Linked DNA regions of Homo sapiens: all the other regions are linked to region 5. Evidence: promoter capture Hi-C in human tissues and cell types (Jung and others, 2019). All regions are on one chromosome and are shown on one strand. Each heading gives the region's core, a stretch centred on a gene start or on the middle of the fragment in contact. The rest is flanking DNA. Distances are from core to core; before and after follow the strand shown.

Evidence for each region. The method cuts DNA at HindIII sites, captures the fragments that hold promoters and counts their contacts. A contact is called where the count stands out against the background at its distance.
Region 1: a fragment that was not itself captured here is called in contact with the fragment with the promoter of HECW1 in region 5 in 3 of the 25 tissues and cell types used here (IMR-90 fibroblasts, aorta and dorsolateral prefrontal cortex).
Region 2: a contact is called between a fragment that was not itself captured here and the fragment with the promoter of HECW1 in region 5, in 1 of the 25 tissues and cell types used here (mesendoderm cells).
Region 3: a fragment that was not itself captured here is called in contact with the fragment with the promoter of HECW1 in region 5 in 2 of the 25 tissues and cell types used here (H1 embryonic stem cells and dorsolateral prefrontal cortex).
Region 4: a contact is called between a fragment that was not itself captured here and the fragment with the promoter of HECW1 in region 5, in 1 of the 25 tissues and cell types used here (mesenchymal stem cells).

The regions. Positions count from the first base shown.
Region 1 is chr7:43,326,288-43,329,845 of GRCh38, reverse strand. The region is part of intron 5 of HECW1 (HECT, C2 and WW domain containing E3 ubiquitin protein ligase 1); the gene reads right to left. Among named protein-coding and RNA genes, the nearest start is that of MIR3943, 180 kb to the right of the region's middle. The HindIII fragment of the contact is 6,763 bases long and covers 1-3,558 here.
Region 2 is chr7:42,979,314-42,983,088 of GRCh38, reverse strand. No RefSeq gene overlaps it. Among named protein-coding and RNA genes, the nearest start is that of MRPL32, 49 kb to the right of the region's middle. The HindIII fragment of the contact is 3,571 bases long and covers 717-3,775 here.
Region 3 is chr7:43,300,429-43,304,085 of GRCh38, reverse strand. All of the region lies in intron 3 of HECW1 (HECT, C2 and WW domain containing E3 ubiquitin protein ligase 1), which reads right to left. Among named protein-coding and RNA genes, the nearest start is that of MIR3943, 150 kb to the right of the region's middle. The HindIII fragment of the contact is 4,198 bases long and covers 1-3,657 here.
Region 4 is chr7:42,961,331-42,965,136 of GRCh38, reverse strand. No RefSeq gene overlaps it. Among named protein-coding and RNA genes, the nearest start is that of MRPL32, 31 kb to the right of the region's middle. The HindIII fragment of the contact is 3,536 bases long and covers 752-3,806 here.
Region 5 is chr7:43,110,407-43,113,952 of GRCh38, reverse strand. HECW1 (HECT, C2 and WW domain containing E3 ubiquitin protein ligase 1) reads right to left here and starts at 1,306. Exons shown (of 30, transcript NM_015052.5): 1 at 1,016-1,306. The HindIII fragment of the contact is 15,211 bases long and covers 1-3,546 here.

The sequences.
Region 1 (3,558 bases), core at 761-3,260, 220 kb before region 5:
AGGCTACACTTTGAGAAACACTACTTTACACTCCCCCTACACAAAGTCCTTCACACCCTCACTTCACACAGCAGTTGCTTGTTCCTTTCCCATCTCTGTTTCAAAGCCGGGTTCTTCTCCTTAGCACGCCGTGTCCGGGCAACTGTGTGCTGCATCTTTCCAGCCCACAGACACTTCAGCCTGAACTTGGTGTCTTCAATCCCCAAACTCGCCCCCTTTCTGACCCCTCAGTCTTGGATGATGTGCCGTAGAGGCAGCTGATTCTCCTTCTGCCCCTTTCCTCTCCCCAGGCACACATCCAGTTCCTCACCAAGCCATGTTGATCTTACCTCCTAAGCCTCTTTCTGAATCAGCCCCTTCCATTTTTCTCATTCCAGGTGTTCTTTGTTTCTCACCTGTTTTTATGCCATAGTTTCTTGGTGGTCTCAAGCCTCTAATATCAGCACCTTACAGTCTTCTCGCCACACTTCTGCCAGAATGCAGTTTCTAGAATGCAAGCCTAATCGGAATGCTTTTTCTACTTAAAGCATTTGCATAGCTCTGTGTGCTCTGCAGGCATATGTCTAAACTGCCTAGAACCTCTGACCCTGGGCTCCTTCCCTGGAATGTTTCTTTTCCAATTCTGTCTCACCTACCCCAGCCTCACCCCTTCCCACCCCTGTATGCCACTTGGCCCTGAGCCCAGACCTTCCTTCCCAACTGGCCGAGTTCCTGTAACTTGGAGGTGATTAGGTCTTTGCCCCAAGGTCAGGCTAGGGCTCCTCCTCTTACTATTTCACACAAAGCACAAAAAGAAGTACATGCTTGTCTCCCCAGTGTAATGCCAGAACCTTGGCATGCAGGGACGGAGCCTGCATGTCTAGATCTGAGCCCCTGGAGACCAGCACGATCCCCAGCAGGCCTCCAGCACAATAGGGCTAAGAGAGACAGCTGTATCTGTTATGTTCTCACACCGACTTGGCAACTTAAGGTTAATCCAGAAAAGTGTGACTTTGGGTTAATAGGGCCTTGACCCTTTATTTATGTCGATTGAGTGTTTTCTTCTCATTGGGAAGATCTGACATGTATCTGACTGGAAGCCGGCACCATCGTTTTGTATTGCTGCGAATCTGAATGGAATGTTCCGGTTATATCTTTCTGGCTGTTTTCTGTAATAACGCTCAGTCATGCTTTGTTATTTAATCTGAGGGACTGAGACCTCCATGCACTGCAGGTCAATTTTGATGTCCCCCAGATGCAATGGAATCCTTGATGTGCTGAGAAGTGACTGCACGCCTGCGTCTTGTCTTCCCACGTGGGCTGGGCCCTCCACTGCCACACGCCATTGTCTCATTGGCCGTGTTCAGTCAGATTGGCCTCTGGCAGCCCCATGCAGTTCAGACAGGGACCAGCAGCAACCGCAGCCCCTCTAGTTCACTGCTTCTTCTGTGTCCCATGTTGCAGGCCTTGACTGGGATTGCTGAAGGTGGATATGTTTCCCTGAAGTTGCCTTGCACGAATAGTCACAAACCCTTGTTTTTTTTGTTTTTTGTTTTTTGTTTTTAATTTGAGACAAGGTCTTGCTCCATAGCTCAGGCTAGACTGCAGACCTCCCCAGCTCAAGTGATTCTCCCATCTCAGCTTCCCAAGTAGCTGGGTCTACTGGTGCATGCCACCAAACAGAGCTAACATTTTTAAATTTTTATTTTTTGTAGAGATGGAGGTCTCACTTTGTTGCCCAGGCTGGTCTTGAGCTCCTGGGCTCTAGTGATCCTTCCGCCACTTCCTCCCAAAATGCTACGATTATAGGTGTGAGCCACTATGCCTGGCCCCAAATCCGTTTTATCATGTCATCCTAAAACTAAAATAATAATGATAATAATAATAATAATAATAATAATAATATAAATGGTTCATAGACTACATAAAGTCTAAGCACTTATCTTTCCTGTACTTCTCAGCTCCACCCTGCCGTGCCTTTAATCTTGCTCTTTAATCACTATTATGTTCTTTCTACATCCCATTAGCACACAGGATGCATAATATCTAATATATGATATCACATGATGCATGATAACCTCAAAGGGACAAAATTATCACTGTATGAATATTTCCAACCCTTTCACTTGGGGCTGCTAGAGAGTGCCTATGGACTTGGTAGCTTGGGCTCCTTCCTCTACCCAGGGGATGCCTCTCTAGCAAGATTAATTCTTTTGGGATTTTAAAGCAAAACTGGAAGGAAATAACGAAGGGAAGACCAACATGAGTACGAGGTATAACCAGAGGTAGGTTTATGGAGAAGTTTAGGTGGTAGGGACAGCAGGGAGGGGAATTAATTGTGTGGTGAAAGGATAAAAAGAATTTCAGGAGTATCACTGTGAACTCTATATTATTTTCCTAAAATTTAAGAAACACAAGTAAGAATATAAGCAACACGAATTACTTCACGACCGTTACACAGTGCAATTTTAACCATGATTTCAATTTAGCGTAGTGCTAAAGTGGGTGGGCAGCGGTGGGGGGAGTCTTGGTTTCCACGGAGCTCTATAAAAAAATCAGATGGCACAATAATATAAATACGCCTATTATCTTGCAGATATGTATATGGAGTCATACTTTTTCCTAACAGAAAACCTGTGAAGCAGTGCAATGATCACACCTTTACGTTGCACAGGTGGGGTTCAGTCTCCTCATGTAGACTTAACCTTCTTAAGGGCTTAGCGCCTATGGCCCAAGTATTTATTGTAGCACAGATTGAGACATCTCCTTGGAAATAACACAACAGTGATTGAAAATGGCAGCCCGCGGTGCAGTCCTTAGCCACACTGGCTCTAAAGGCAGAGCAGTCCTGGTGAAAACATGCCCAAGTTGAAATAAAAGGCTCTAACAACATGTCACCTTAACCATCTGGACTGTGGCCTGATGAAGCCCCTGTGTCTAGTCTTGGTGCTGGTGCCTCTGGTCCCAGCGAGCTTGTTCTGGCTCTGGCTGCTTCGCCGCAGGGAAACATTGCTCTGAATGTCAAGGGAGAGAAGGCCACCGGCTCCCCTGGAGCCCTGCTTTTCCTCCAGTGCCCTTTGGTCTCCAGCTTTGGCTGCAGAGCAGAGGGTTTCCCCACAGAAAACTCTCAGCATAAAGCCATTCATGTCTCAATTGTCACCAAGACACCAATATGTTCATTTCCAGAGCAGAAATAAAAGGTGGATGTACGATCCTGCCCTGTTTCCTCTCAGAGTGACACCTGTAATTCCTAATTCACAGCCCTCTAATTATGGCAGGGGGTCTGGTGTTGACTGAGCTCTTACTGTCCCTGACACATGGCTGGGCACTTCTCCTGAGTTTTTTCAGGTCATCTTCATGGGGCCGCCTTGTGGAGGACATATATCACTTTCATTTTATAGATGAAGAAACAGAATCTCAGAGTCCAGAGGGCCTCCCTGGGCGTGGGGTTGAGCCCCAAGTCACCGTGGCCATCATGCTGCCTCTGGCTTAGAAGCCACTGGCTGAAGCCCAGAGTGAGGAGGCAGATCCCGACAGCCCCTACCTGTGTGAGGTTCACCTCACCATGGTCAAGGGGGG
Region 2 (3,775 bases), core at 1,253-3,752, 130 kb after region 5:
TCATTGTCCACTTTGACAGATGACAAAGTGAATGATTTGCTCATAATCACTGACCTAACAAGTGAGGGGCCAGGACATGGACTCAGGTCACCTCTCCCACCTCCATGGTACTGCTGCTCAGGGCACTGTCAACATGAGCTGGCACATGAGTAAAGGTGATTCCCATTTGTGGACTTCTCTCTGCTGCTGCTGTTCAAACAGAAGGGAGACCCGTGAGCCACAGCTCACACCTGATTACTCAGACATGGACTCTTGGGCTTATGTGTTATCCAGGCCCTACATTCTTCCTTTCCTGTTGCTGGAGCTTTGATCATCACACTTGCTCTTTCGTATGACCTTTACCCAGGAAAACCTCAATGGAAGCAGGGGGCGCTCTGCTGTGGACTTTATTCTTTGGGGGAAGCTCTGGAGAAATGTTGTACTTTGAAGCTATTTGCTTGTTAGTTTCATAAAGCAACATCCTGATTTCATAGAAACTTAAAGTTTTCTGTTTTGAAGGGATCTGAGAGATCATTTGTGCATCCATTTTCTTCCTATTTCTTATTACAGATAAAAGTGACTATGTGAAGGGCTGGGCGCAGTGGTTCGCACCTGTAATCCCAGCTCTTTGGAGGCCAAGATGGGCAGATTGCTTGAGATCAGGAGTTTGAGAACAGCCTGGCCAATATGGTGAAACCCTGTCTCTACTAAAAAATACAAAAATTAGCCAGGAGTGGTAATGCATGCCTGTAATCTCAGCTACTATGGAGGCTGAGACAGGAGAATTGCTTAAACCCAGGAGGCAGAGGCTGCAGTGAGCCAAGATAGTGCCATTGTGCCACTGTACTCCAGCCTGGGTGACAGAGTGAGAGACTCCATCTCAAAAAAAAAAAAAAGTGACTATATGAGTTATACTTTGGAGATCTCTGGGGTTAAGGCCTGTTGTTACATATTATAGAACATCTTCTCTTGTTTTTTTTTATTTGTTTGTTTTTGTTTTTGTTTTTGGCATTTATATCATTTTAACAAAAGAAGTGAGAAAGGCTAAGTGTCTAGAATGCTTTCTCTTTTAGCAGTAGAACCTCTGGAGGTAGACATTTAGCAAGAAGCCTGCTAAACTGCAGACTAATTCCCTCCAACTTTGGTTAAATTTCTATCCCCCCATTAAAATCCCCAAATGCAATGTCATTAGCAGCATTCATTGCTCCTTGTAAGAGCTGGGAATGCACCCCAGATGTTGTGTTTTGAGCACAAAGGCCTGTGTGCCAGATTCACAGCATGGCTTAGAACCTTCTGAACCCCGCCCACTCTACAAGATACTCTTTGTGGCCTCTCCTAGGCTTCCAACATTATTATACAACCCCAGGCTTCTTCCTCTTTTGTAACCTCTCAGACAAGTAATAGATGCACTGTAGTCTTTGCCAGAAAATAAAATGAAAAGGAATGAGAAGTCCCTGCCAGAGTGGTTTTCTTTTGATGCTTTCTTTCATCTTCCTTCACCTCCCCTGTGGGGAAAGATAGGCAATGTATTTATCAGCTTTTATTATCTTGATTTATAACCTCAGGTCCCAATTAGAAGGTAAAACATGAAGGCATAGATTTAAATGGTGCCAATTGTGCCCTTTCCATTTCATTCTTTTCTCTCTTTTGTCAGAAAAAAATCCTTTGATTTCATTTCTTCGTTCTTTATAATACTGTATTGATCTGCCAGTATAGAGAATGCATCAGCAACTCTCTTATCTTTGGCTAATACTACATTTTTCTGCACTAACTACAACCCACAAACTGTACATTTGTGTCATTACATGTCTGGTTTGCACACATTAAATTAGATATACAATGTGCATTCTATACTTTATTGAGTCGATTATGACAAGAATTGTGATGAATGGCATTTGGTAGCTTTCATTTATCATCCAGAAAGCTTCATTTTCCAACATCAATCAGGCAATTAAAAGGACCGCTAGTAGGCTGACCTATTGTGTGTCTTCATTCTCTTACTTTGTTTCATGTTCATTATGGTTCACAGTACAGAATGATGACATTCCTGCATTCATTCATTCAGTCATTCAAACAATTTTCATTGCATGCCTTCTAAGTGCTGGACACCAGTCAAGGCACAGGGAAGAACACTAAAATAACAGACAAAATCCTTTCTCTTGTGTGGCTAACAAGAAAGGGCTGGGAAGGATAACAGACCAATAAACCGTGTATTTGTAATATATGCAGGGGCATGAGCACTAGGCTGGGGAAAGGGCTAGTGAGGACAGGAAAGGGAAAGGAGGCCACAGTAGTCAGGAAGATCCTCTTTAAGAAGGTGACCTGGAGCAGAGACTTGCATGAAGTAGAGAAGCAAACTCTGCAGCCACCTGTGAGAGCCTTCCAAGCACAGGGAGCAACATGTGTCAAGCAACATGAGGATGCAGCAGAGCCAGCATATACGAGAAACTGAAAGGACATGAAATCTGGTGCACAGGGAGTGACCGGGAAAGTGGCTGGAGAGTAGGTAGCAGATGGATAGATTTATGTAAGGCCATGTGAGCCAATGACAACTTGATTTCATTCTGAGAGAGTTGGGATGCCATCAGAGGACTTTGAGCAGAGGGAACATAATCTGACTTTTGCTTTAAAAGAGTCACTCCAGCTGTAGTGAGAATAGACAATTGAGGGTAACAGTAGAAACCAGGAAACCAGATATGAGTTATTACAATAATCTGGGAAAAGATAATGGTGTCTTAGACCAGGATGGCAGTGGTGGAGGGTAGAGAGACAAGGTTAGGTTTGTATTGTGAAGGCAAAGCCGGTAGGCTTTGCTGACTAACTAGATAGCGATGAGAGGAGTAGGAACAAGGGTAACTCCAAGAATTGGAGATGCATATCTGGATGAATGAAGTTGGTGTTTGCTGAGAGAGGGAAGCCTGAAGAAAGAGAAATTAGAGACAGGCAGGAAGAAACCAAGAGGTCTCTTTTGGGCATATTAACTTGGGGTTCCTACTCCCCAACAATCACCAATTAATAAATTTTCATCCTTCTCATAGATTAGTCTTGATTGCAGCATAGACTTGTGGCTGAGTGTGGTCTCTGGAGCCTGTCTTCCTTGTCTTGAAGCCCACCCACACTAGCTCTGTAATCTGAAAGAAATGACAACTTTTCTGTACCTCAGTTTCTTTTAATGTTTAGTTTTCTTATACAAACAACTTTTTTTTCCATAAGTTTTTGGAGTACAGGTGGCATTTGTTTACATGAGTAACCAAATAAGTTCTTTAGTGGTGATTTGTGAGATTTTGGTGTACCCATTACCCAAACAGTATACACTACACCATATTTGTAGCCTTTTATCCCTCGCCCCCCTCTCACTCTTCCCCCCAAATCCCCAAAGTCCATTGGATCATTCTTATGCCTTTGCATAATAATTAAATTAGATGTACAATGTGCATTCTATACTTTATAGCTTAGCTTTACTTTATAGCTTAGCTCCCATATATCAGTGAGAACATGGGATGTTTGGTTTTCCATTTTTGAGTTCACTTAGAATAATAGTCTCCAATCTCATCCAGGTCACTGCAAATGCTGTTAATTCATTCCTTTTTATGGCTGAGTAGATAACATAATACCACAGTTTCTTTATCCATTCGTTGATTGATTGGCATTTGGGTTGGTTCCATTATTTTGCAACTGGGAATTTTGCTTCTATAAACATGCATGTGCAAGTATCTTTTCCGAATAATGACTTCTTTTCCTCTGGGTAGATACCCAGTAATGGGATTGCTGGATCAAATGGTAGTTCTGCTTTTAG
Region 3 (3,657 bases), core at 568-3,067, 190 kb before region 5:
TGCAGCCCACGCATTTCCTCTGAGTCACGACTGTTAAGGGAAACAATTCGTTAGGCTAAAAAGAAGGGCTCCACCTCTCTGGGAATTGCCTTCATCACCTGTCAAATAAGAAGAAAGTGTTGGGATGAGATTAAATACTGCCCCTGGGTCCTCCTCTCCCTCTCACATCCTGAGATTTGAGTCCTGCTTACCCATTTGTACCTCTGCTTGGGAACTGCTGTGTATGAGGGATGTTGTGGGACAGGGGCGGGTGTAGGGGCTCTCAGGTGTAAGGGAGGAGAGTGGGAGGTGGCTGCTAAACCACCATCTCTGTCTAACTCTTCAGCTCCCAGACACCTGTTCCTGAAACCTGTGCCTCAATTTGTGCTTTCAGCCTCAAAGCCATGTGCTAAAAAAGCTTTCTTTTGTGCTGGCCATTGTGTGGAAGAATATCACAGAATTACATAAACTAAATTGTGTGGGCTTCTTTTCTTTGAAAAAGAAATAAAATCCCACTCATTGCTGGCTGAAAGGGAACATTAGGGGGAGAAAATTTTAATAAGCAAATCAAGCCAAGCCAGATAATATCCACACAGGAAGTCATGATTTAAAATACAAGGAACTTGTTAAAATGCCAGTCAGACACATTATTTTAGGAACACATAATGCCTTATCGCTCATAAAAAAAAATCCACCAATAAGTGTAAGGTTGAACATCCCCTCCCACTTTTGACTCTGCAGCCCTTTGATGGCAGGTGTTGGGGGGCGGGGGGTGGGGTGGTCTTTGCTCCTTGTCGCTCGCACACCATTCTCACTCACACGTAAGAGAAACCAGCTGGAGGCCAGGCTCCAGGAGGGGCATGATTGGACCATTCACTGCTTTGCTCAAGTCTAGGACTGCTTGGTGCAGCTCTGGGTTATTTGGGAGGTTTATGTTTGGAGGCGTTCAGCAGCGAAGTTGCTGAAATCTGGGTGGTTTGTATGGGCAGAGGAATGGGCAGGGGGCTGTGGGTGTGGGAGAGGGAGGAAGGTGGCAGCCAGGAGGGCCTCGTCAGGTTAGCTGGGGCAAATTCCTGTTCATAATATTTAGCACCTCCTCTGGTTTACACAGAAAGGAAAGGTGAGAACTGGTATTCCTGTGTGTGTGTGTGCGCGCATGTGTGTGTGCACGTGTGTGGGTGTGTGTGGTGTGTGTGTAAGACACAGAGACAGAATGAATGGGAACTTACAGATGTGAGAAAGAGACCCATTTTTCCCTTCTCAATGTTAGGAAATACTGTTTCTTCCTCAGGAAGGCACTAGCCTGATTGAAAGTGGAAAAGTTTCCTCTTTACCTACTGATACCTGCAGAGGAAAAGGATATGTGTTCACCTCCCAGAACCACAGTGCGGCTCCAGGGGCCCAAGGCGCCCAGCTCCAGGAGCCCTGCGGACCATACAGGAGAGAAAGGGAGGTGGAGCTGCTGTGAGCCAGCCACATCATCCTCCCGGGGCGGCCCCGTACCGGGCATTTGTGAGGAGCCCCCATGATGACCTCAGCCTCACTCCATCCTGAGCCCAGCAGGGCTTGTGCTGTGCTGAGTGGGGTCACTGTGCCTCTTCCCGTAACCAGGGCACCACCACCTGCTTGGCTACAGTCCAGTCTCCAAAAGCCAACCCACAATACTGTGAATCACACAGGAACCCACAGTGACAGTCATGGGAGGGTTCTGGGCCAGCCCCTCCTCTTATTCACCGGGAAGCTGAAGCCTGAGAAGGGCAGCTGCCTGCCCTGACCACGCAGCAGGGGAGCAGCAGGGCCCCAAGTGGACCTTGAGACTCCCTGCGGCCAGTTAGCTGCCTCATCCATGGCCTGAGCTGCCTGGCTTGGGAGGGAGCCTCAGGCTTGTTGAGAAGCCTGAGGAGCCTCAGGCTGTTGTAAGCCAGTGTGTTTCCCTCCTCCATTCATGGTCGTGTCCTCATTTGCCTGCTATTAGGTGATGGGGCCAGACAGGGATTACAGTTCTAAGAAATACACTTAGGAGGGTTTCAGATGCAGTGCTGAGTTTGTATCCTCATTGAAATTAATACTCAAAAGCATGTTATCATTTGTCATGGAGGATCAAGGTGCTGTAAAGATGCTCTCTTTTAAATTCTTATATCCCCTGGGTGGTTTGACCCAGCATCTTTGGGTTTATTTTTAAGTAAATCCTGTCTTTGGTTTTATTCTCCTGCTTCTTTTTTTTTTTTTTTTGACAGAGTTTCCACTCTTGTTGCCTAGGCTGGAAGGAAATGGTGCGATCCCAGCTCACTGTAACCTCTGCCTCCCGGGTTCAAGAGATTCTCCTGCTTCAGCCTCCCGAGTAGCTGGGATTACAGGTGCGTGCCACCGTACCTGGCTAATTGTTTTGTATTTTTAGTAGAGAAGGGGTTTCACCATGTTGGCCAGGCTGGTCTTGAACTCCTGACCTCAAGTGATCCACCTTGACCTCCCAAAGAGCTGGAATTACAGGCGTGAGCCACTGCATCTGGCTTCTTCTTCCTTCCTTTAGCCCAGTCAATCAGGAAATGTGGATGGAGTCTTTAGTGTGTACCAGGCCTTGTGCTAAATGCTGAGTATGGATACAGAGAGGACTTAAACAGTGCTCATAGCCTCGGAGAGTTTGGTGCAGGAGGCAGACATTTAAGCAGTCAACTATGACACAATGGTGAGGGCAATAATGGGGTGGTGGGCATGGTCCCCCCTAGAAGGGAGAGAGATGCTGGGACCACCTTCCCAGATGGGAGGACATGGAAGCTGGACCTGGAAGGAAGGGGCAAGAGCTGAGGGAAATCCAATCTAAGCAGAAGGAACTTCTCGTGGAAAAGCGTATCTTTACTAGAAGCATGCTGAGCTTCCAGATTCAGCAGAGCTCCTCTTAGCTGTCTGCCAGACAGTGTTGGGGGCAGCTGGAAGTGTGTGAAAGGGGTCTCCCATGGCACACCAAGAAATAAGACCTTCTCCATTGGAGAGTGGGGGGCCACGGAGGTTTTGTTCACCTTAGAAACTTCACACTGCAGCAATGAGGGGGAGAGCAAGGTGGACAGAGCTGCTGTGTCTTGGGGAGCCCAAGTATAGCTCTCCTGAATGCCAAGGTCTACATGCAGGGAGAAGCTTTACCAATCAAGTGGTCCCTCAAGTCTAAACAAGTGGCACCGTGGCAGAAGTTACTGACAAAGTAGCAGGGGCGGCTCCTGGGCGGGTGCAGGGACAGTGTGCAGCTCTCACATCAGTGTGGGAGGTCATCGTACCTGCTTTTCCAGATCACCCATCAAGCCAGAAGAAGGCCCCATGTTGGACTGCAGCTCTGATAAGTGTGCCAGTCATTGGGATTATGAACCATAATGCCCATCATCAGTACACAGTGGGGTTGAACCAGCAGCAGCAGCACTTTCCTTTTGTGATCAAAGTGCCCCGGATGAACACGGCCATATCTGATATAAATTCAGTGTTGATGTCTCAGAGCATTTATGAGAGCAACTTAGAGCCATGATGAAGAGTGAAGCAGGCATGGCCGTTAGCAATATAAAGTCATCTCTCTCTCCTACATTTCATACCTATATTGGCAATATAAAGGAATCTCTCGCTCCTTCCACCCTTCTTCCACCCTCTTCTATCCCTCTTCCACCCTTGAAAGGAGACAAAGCCAGTTCATATTCC
Region 4 (3,806 bases), core at 1,270-3,769, 150 kb after region 5:
TGCACCACTTTTCTGTGAAATTGTTAAGAGGAAGCATGATTCACCTTTCTCTCTTTTCCCTTTGCCAAGGCTACAAAATGTTCTAGATGGTGGCTGCTCCTTTAGCAAGGATCCAAGTCAGGATGACAGGGACACAAAACAGAGCTCCTGGCTGACTAGCAAAGGGCACGTAACATGAGCCTGACATAGACCTTTGTTGTATAAAGTCGCTGAGACCTTGTGTTAGTTTGTTGCCATAGCTTAACACAGTATCCTGACAGATACATAAACAGGCACGCAGAAATAGAAAGCGTTTGGGATATAGAAAATGATTCTCCCAAATATGGCACTTGGGCATACTGCATGCTTTTGAAAATTGAGGCCCAGTGCAGTGGTTCATGCCTATAGTCCTGGCACTTTGGGAGGCCGAGGCGGGAGGATTGCTAGAGCCCAGGAGTTTGAGACCAGCCTGGGCAACATAGTGAGACCTGTATCTTAATAAAAAGGAAAAAGAAAGAAAATTGAAAGGACTCAGAAATAAGCCTCAGAATCAAGGTCCCTCTAACCCTCTTCTCCTTCCTTTCGACAGCAGAGAGAGGGACTGTCTCTGAAATTTCCTTATCTAACCAAGAAAGCTTCTTGCCAAAAGAAATACAATTGCCTGTTCCCTCCCTGTTACCTCATTATCTACAGCAGAAAAGAAGGTTGAAGAATGTAACCACACCTGGATAAACTTTTCCACAAGATAATGCCTGCCTCTCCACCTCACATTCTAAAGATAATCATCATTTACAAGTTAATTTCTGTATCCCTGGTCCATTCATTTTCCCTAATAATCGTTTACCACCCTTTAAAGAACTGGCTACATTCCCTATATCCTTCCTCCTCTATGAAAAAGGGTATAGAAGCTTCTGTACCCCATTAGGAGATTGGGGTAATCACTGTTTGATTCCCTCACCCACATGTTAATAAATTTGTATGCTTTTTCTCCTATTAATCTGCCTTCTGTCAGTTGATTTTCAGTGAACTTTTACAGAATGCAGGGGAAGTTTCCCTTGGCCCCTACAGTTTTGCACTGTGAGCAGGATAGCAAAACTGCTCTGCTCTTCTGGAAGCCACAGTCAAGGGAGCCCAGGACTCAACAAACCCGTAGGATAAGAAATTCTTACCAGCCAGGCTCCAAGCCTCTCTTTGTGCAATCTGGTCCAGTAGACAGTAAAAGTCACTGTCCCTTTCCCTCTCCAAAGTCTTTTTTTTTTTTTTTTTTTTTTTTGAGACAGAGTCTCACTCTCTTGCCAAGGCTGGAGTGCAGTGGTACGATCTTGGCTCACTGCAACCTCTGCCTCCCAGGTTTAAGCAATTCTTGTGCCTCAGCCTCCCGAGTAGCTGGGATTACAGCCATGCACCACCACTACCTAGTGGTGGTGCTAATTTTTGTGGTTTTAGTAGAGATGCGATTTTGCCATGTTGGCCAGGCTGGTCTCAAACTCCTGACCTCAGGTGATACACCCACCTGAGCTTCCCAAAATGCTGGGATTATAGGAGTGAGCCACCGTACCTAGTTGAAAGTCTTGATTAATGGAGGAAAAGGATTTGTGAGCCTAGTCTTAGGTGTAGCAACTCTGGTGTACTTTTTGGTATGAAAATTCATATTGTCTTTTTCCTCCCAGAAATAGTCTTGTCTTTTGTCTTTGTCTTTCTGTGTTGTTCTGTCATAAAGAGGGATTGTGTCAATATGAGATAATAAGAAGGGTCAAAATCTAGTTTTAAAGAGTTTAATCAAGAAGAAAGCTGGGAATGGCCATTCTGGGACACACAGATTTCAGAGAAATAGGATCAGTGCTCTGAAGTTAAAAGTTAAGTTTTTGCTTATATAGGAAGAAGACAAAGAAATTTAACAGGATTATATTTCCTATATACTGGTTTAAGAGTTATAACAAATTAATTAGTTAGAGTTTGTTTTCTTTTCTGTATGGCTTGTTTTATTCATAGCTGATTTTCATTTCCTTTCCAATTTAAAAGAGTATGTTTAACATTCCATCTTAAGACAATGTGGTAGTCATGAAGTCTTTGTGTGAGAAAGGTGAGAGGGAGGTTAATCTACAATGAAGATCAACAGAGGAGAAGGAAGGGGTCTTCCTTGGTGCCCTTCTGTCATTCATGTCATTTTATTAACACAAAACAATACAGGTAAGGAAGGAGGCTTAATCTATAATCAGAGAAACAAAGGTTACAGCTGTCTGTTATGTGATGCAGGCCCATAATCACATTCCTTTAAGGTTCAAAATAATTTTAGAGTTCCAATACCTTCAATTTGGATTACTTATTTTTACATTTTTCTTCTTTTTGGAAGAAAGTTCTTCAAGAACTTTTTGAAGAAACCATCATAGATGAATTTAATGGTTGGACTCCTTTTATGTTGAGAAATTTTGATCCCATGTCACTAGGAAGGCACACTCCTAGGATGTCATGTCCCCTAGCAAAGGATGATTAAACCAGCTGTAAGCTGATGTAGTATAGGCTGAATTTAAGTCAGCATAAAGAAAGTGATTTTGTGTGTTAGGCTAAATAGCTATATCTTCAATTTATGCAACTATTTGGGGGACCATTATTTTAGTCTTTTCAGTCACAAGTTGACTCCATTTTAAACAAATGCTGTAACAACAGTGTAGACAAAACCAGAACAAAACACAATATGCAATTACAATTCCTAGAATAAGTAACAGCTTTTGCTGTTAAGTTACCCAAGATCCAAACCATCTACTTAGCTAGTCACTTAGAGAAGATTTGGGATCTGAAAAGTTGGTTATTGAGGTTTTCATATCAGCCATTCATTTATTGATGTTATTAGACTCATCTAGTATAGAGACACAACATTCAGTTTTTATGATGGTACCTTGGGCTGCAGTGGGTGTGTCTAAAACTTGTTGTGCCATACAGCCTTTCTTGTAATAGCAACTTCATTGTTTAATAACAAAGTACTGATGTGGCTATCATTTAGAGCCTGTAGTGTATAATTGATCGGGGCCTCTACATGCCAAATAACATTCTCAAATACCCAGTTGTGGGATGAAGATGGAAGCTAAATGATCATACCAATGGAACACAGAAAAAGCCCAGCAGGATTATAAATGAGGAAAATTTGCAGGTTTTGATAGGGAATGAACTATTTGACCTTGTGCCCAAGCATAACCCAAGGAACATTGTCCTAGCCATCCTGGGAGTAGCCATGTCCATAGATTAGTGCCACATGACCAAAACTTTCCATTTGAAGCTAACCAAGAAATACTCAGTTGTTGTATCTATTCAGTGGCAGGCCAATCAGTATTTTGTAATGTAATGGTGTTGAAACACTGTTCTTTGGGTATCCATCCCATATTTCTGGTGCAATTAGGCCAGTTATCTTTAATGTAATTTCTCTGGTCCCAACATAGACAACGTAGCTGAGCTGACGGGAGGGAATAAGCCAGATAAACCCATCTTAAATTTGTGTTATATGATACTGAAGTTGAGTTTTCTTATAACTGAGTACCCTATTTTTAAGGTTTTTTTCCTCTTCCTTCTTCAGTCCTTTTCTATTAACTTTTTAGTAATAAAATAATATCCTTTACTCTCCTTCTTTCCACAAGGCACTCCCTTGCATTGCTAGCTTATCTAATTATGCTTGCTTAGAAGTTCCAGAGATTGAATCTTGAGACAATCCAGGTGCCTATGGAATTATCCCCCACCAGGAGATTACTTCAAGCCTGCAGCTAATTTACAACCCAGTCAAGCCCGAGATGGCACCAGCTCATTCACAAGTTGGAGCAATAACTCAAGATAAGTCA
Region 5 (3,546 bases), core at 57-2,556:
GTCCCTGCCAGCTCCCCCTACGCGCTGAAATTCGGCAGGGAAGAAGTTATGGTGCCCAGCCTCTGTGTGCAAGACAGAGACACCGCGCATCATGGCTCTGAAAATCAGCCAAGTGGCCGGGACGTCAAAGCGGCAGAGCAATCAGAATGCCCTGGAGCCGGGGATGGAGGGGCCACATTGTTTGAGCCCTCGGATTTTGCTGCATTGTCACCGCCCGGGAACGTGGGGGTAGCAGGAAGCGCACCTCCAGCCAAAAATGGACCGGACGCATTCCCCCCCCCTCCCCGCCCCGGCAGCTCCCTCCCTGCCTGTCTGCAAGTCGCAATACGGTAGGCGACATGACTGCTCCCGCTAAAACTCAGGTGGCAGGCCCGGCTGAGCGGCGCAGCCGGCCGGTAACAGGGAGGCGCTGGGGGAGCACCCACACAGCGCCTCCTCCCCTCCTGCACCCGTCCATGGGAGCAAGGGCCGGACCTGGCCACGCGCCCCTCGAGCGAGCACCGGCGAGCCCGTGCGGAGGCTCTGGGCGCTCTCTGGGCTAACCACGGGCATTGCATGGGACACAATTGTTCAAAAGCGAGCCCAAGGCGAAGCGCAAATCCAGAGCTTTGGTTCACAAGGGGTGGGTGTGGGCTGGGAAGGGGGATTACGTAGGTCTCTCCGCCCCCTCCCCTGACACCTCCTCGCCACTGGGAGGGCGCTGAGGGGCGGGGGAGGCGCTGCGAACCCGCTTGGGGGCTTCTTTGTTTCTCTCCGTACCCCGCAGGAGGGCCGGGTGCGCCTGCAGTACCCAAGCCGGGGTCGCCACCCGGGGATGCCGGCCCGGACCGGGCGGCGGCGCGACCCAGGCTGACAATTGAACCTCGCGGGAGAAGCGAGAGGGTGGGGAGGAGGGTGGATCTCGGCCCCGAGAAGGGAGGGCGCTGCCGGGGCCTCGCGTGCGGCGGGGAAGCCGCCCAGAGAAGGGCGGGGGGGAAGGGGCGGCAGACAGTGTCCCCGCGCTACGCCCGCTTACCTTGGCAGCCCTGGCCTGGGCACAGATCATGCTCCTGTCAGCGCGCAGATTAGAGCTGGGGGGCGCACGTGCCCCGCATAGTGCACCGGGCGCCTGGGACTGGCTGGGGAGGGGACCCTGGCGACCGCCCGCTCTCGCTGCGCTCTGGCTGCCGGGTGCCCCGAGAGAGCGGAGGCCACGGCCACTGTCACGGCGGAGGGGCGCGCGCGGCTCGGCGAGTGTGTGCGCGAGGAGGGGGCCGGTTCGGTCAGAGTCGCACGGTGTTCCGGCTCCAACAACAGCGCCTGATGCGCGGTAACGCAGCACACTTCATCGCTTTATCCTCCCGCTTGCATCCCCTCCCTCCCTGCCTGCTCCTCTGTGGGTACCAGACTCCAGAACCAACCACAAGCCGGGCTTGCTCTCATTAGCGCTGCCCCGCCCTGCAGCCTCCGCGCACCCCCACCCCCGCCCCCGCGGTAAATATATATCGATTCTTGTTACCGCCGGCCCCATCCTTCCAACACCCAGCACGCGTACTGGGCATATCCAACACCAACCCTGGCTCCTCGGCCCTTTTGTGTGTGTGCAAACAGTGTAGCAGAAAGGATGCGGTACAGACACTCTAGGCGGGTACCCTGTGACAGGTGTTCTTGGCCTCTGTCTTAGACACTTTCCTCGCTTACCTTACACACAGTTAAGAACGCTCAGAGACACATTTCAGGAACCGTCCTGTATTTGCACAAGCACACAAAACATCGTAATGACAAATGCAAAGGATGAAAATCACCCCAGAATATCTATTGTTGGGCAAACCTAGCTCCCAAACCGCGTTTTCTATTACACTGCACACAGTGTCAGAATGCTAGAACGAGAAGGAGGCAAAGTCTAGACCCTTCCAGGTACAGCCAACTGAGATGCAAAGAGAAGTGAAATGCTGGTTACTATTGGTGGTTGGCTGCTCCATGTATGCACATTTTTGTGCATCTGGTCGACATTTGGTTTGTGTGTGTTCACATAAAATGCAGAGGCTTTGAGCACATAATCTCTATAGCCTGGGATTTTATGATCCAACCACATTCTCTACAATGCTGATTTATTCCTTCCCATTATTTTGCCCAGCATCCTCTACATGAGCTTTTTTTCACTTTCTGAGAAGTTATCTTCTTTCCCAGACCCCAAACTCCGCCTCCTCTAGAATAAACAAAGGCTTCACCCTGACTTCAGAACTCCTTACTGAAGACCTGAGTACGGACTTGTCAAAACCAAATCTCCTTCCCCTTCCACCCACAGTGGCTAGTTTCTCAGTGCCTCTCATTCCACTGACCTGCCTCTTGGCATTGATTTCACTCTTACAACTGGAACTTTCCAGAACTGGAAACTTTGGACGATGTGAAGGCAGCTTCACCAGCTGTGCTCTTTTCTGCAAGGAGGCACAGCCCTTCTCTTTCCGTATTCCACTTGGGGTGCCCAGTCCTTTCCTGACAGACCCTTTTCTTTGCCTGACAGCAGTCAGATCTTCTGGTCAGATGAGCTCAAAGCAGACCATTTTCAAACCTTAGCTAAGAATCCACACAGAAAGCTGTGCACACATTTCTCCGGATTTTACACTTGGATTAGTACCAACTCCTATATGAAGAAAACTCTCCGAGAATAGACTTGAACAGGCTGTGGCAGTAAACAGCAACAGCAACCAACCATGTGATGTTTCCAACCAGAGACTTGAAAGAAAACAAAAACTTTCACATAAACCAGCATCCATGGTTTCTAAATTAGCACAATGTCACCAAACCACAATAAAGGATAATTTTTTTACCTCAACTAATTGCCAGGATGTTCACCTCATTATTTTCAGTGAATCAGCATCAACTTGGCTCAGAGATGTTTGCTCTCTGTTCTATCCATCATGGAGATGACTTGACAAGTCCACATCTCTCATAGAGGTTATTGATGTAGCAATCCTTGTGGTGTGCTTTATCCTCCCCTGAGGAGTTGCTTTTTTTATACTGAAGACAAAAGATATTAAAATAGCAGTACACAAAGTTTCACATCCTGAGTAGATAAAGAAGCCTTGTAGAGCAGCTTCTACATGTCAGGTGCAATGGCAGCATATACAGACTCCTGTGTATTGTCCCCTTTTATTTTTATTATTTTTATTTTTTGTGAGGGGTCTCACTCCAATGCCCAGGGTGGAGTATAGTGGTGCAATCTCCATTCACTGCAACCTCCGCCTCCCAGGCTCAAGCAACTCTCCCCCCTCAGCCTCCCGAGTACCTGGGAGTACAGGTGTGTGCCACCATGCCTGGCTAATTTGTTTTTTGTATTTTTAGTGGAGATGGGGTTTTGCCAAGTTGCCCAGGCTGGTCTTGAACTCCTGAGCTCAAGCAATCCTCCTGCCTCAGCCCCCCAAAGTGCTAGGATTACAGACGTGAACCACCATGCCTGGCCTGTTTTGTTTGTTATTCCTAACAGTCCCCCTGTAGTCTGGGTAGCATGATCCTATTTTACAGAAGAAAGCAAAAAGGCTATGTTAGTTCTGTAATTTCCTTAAG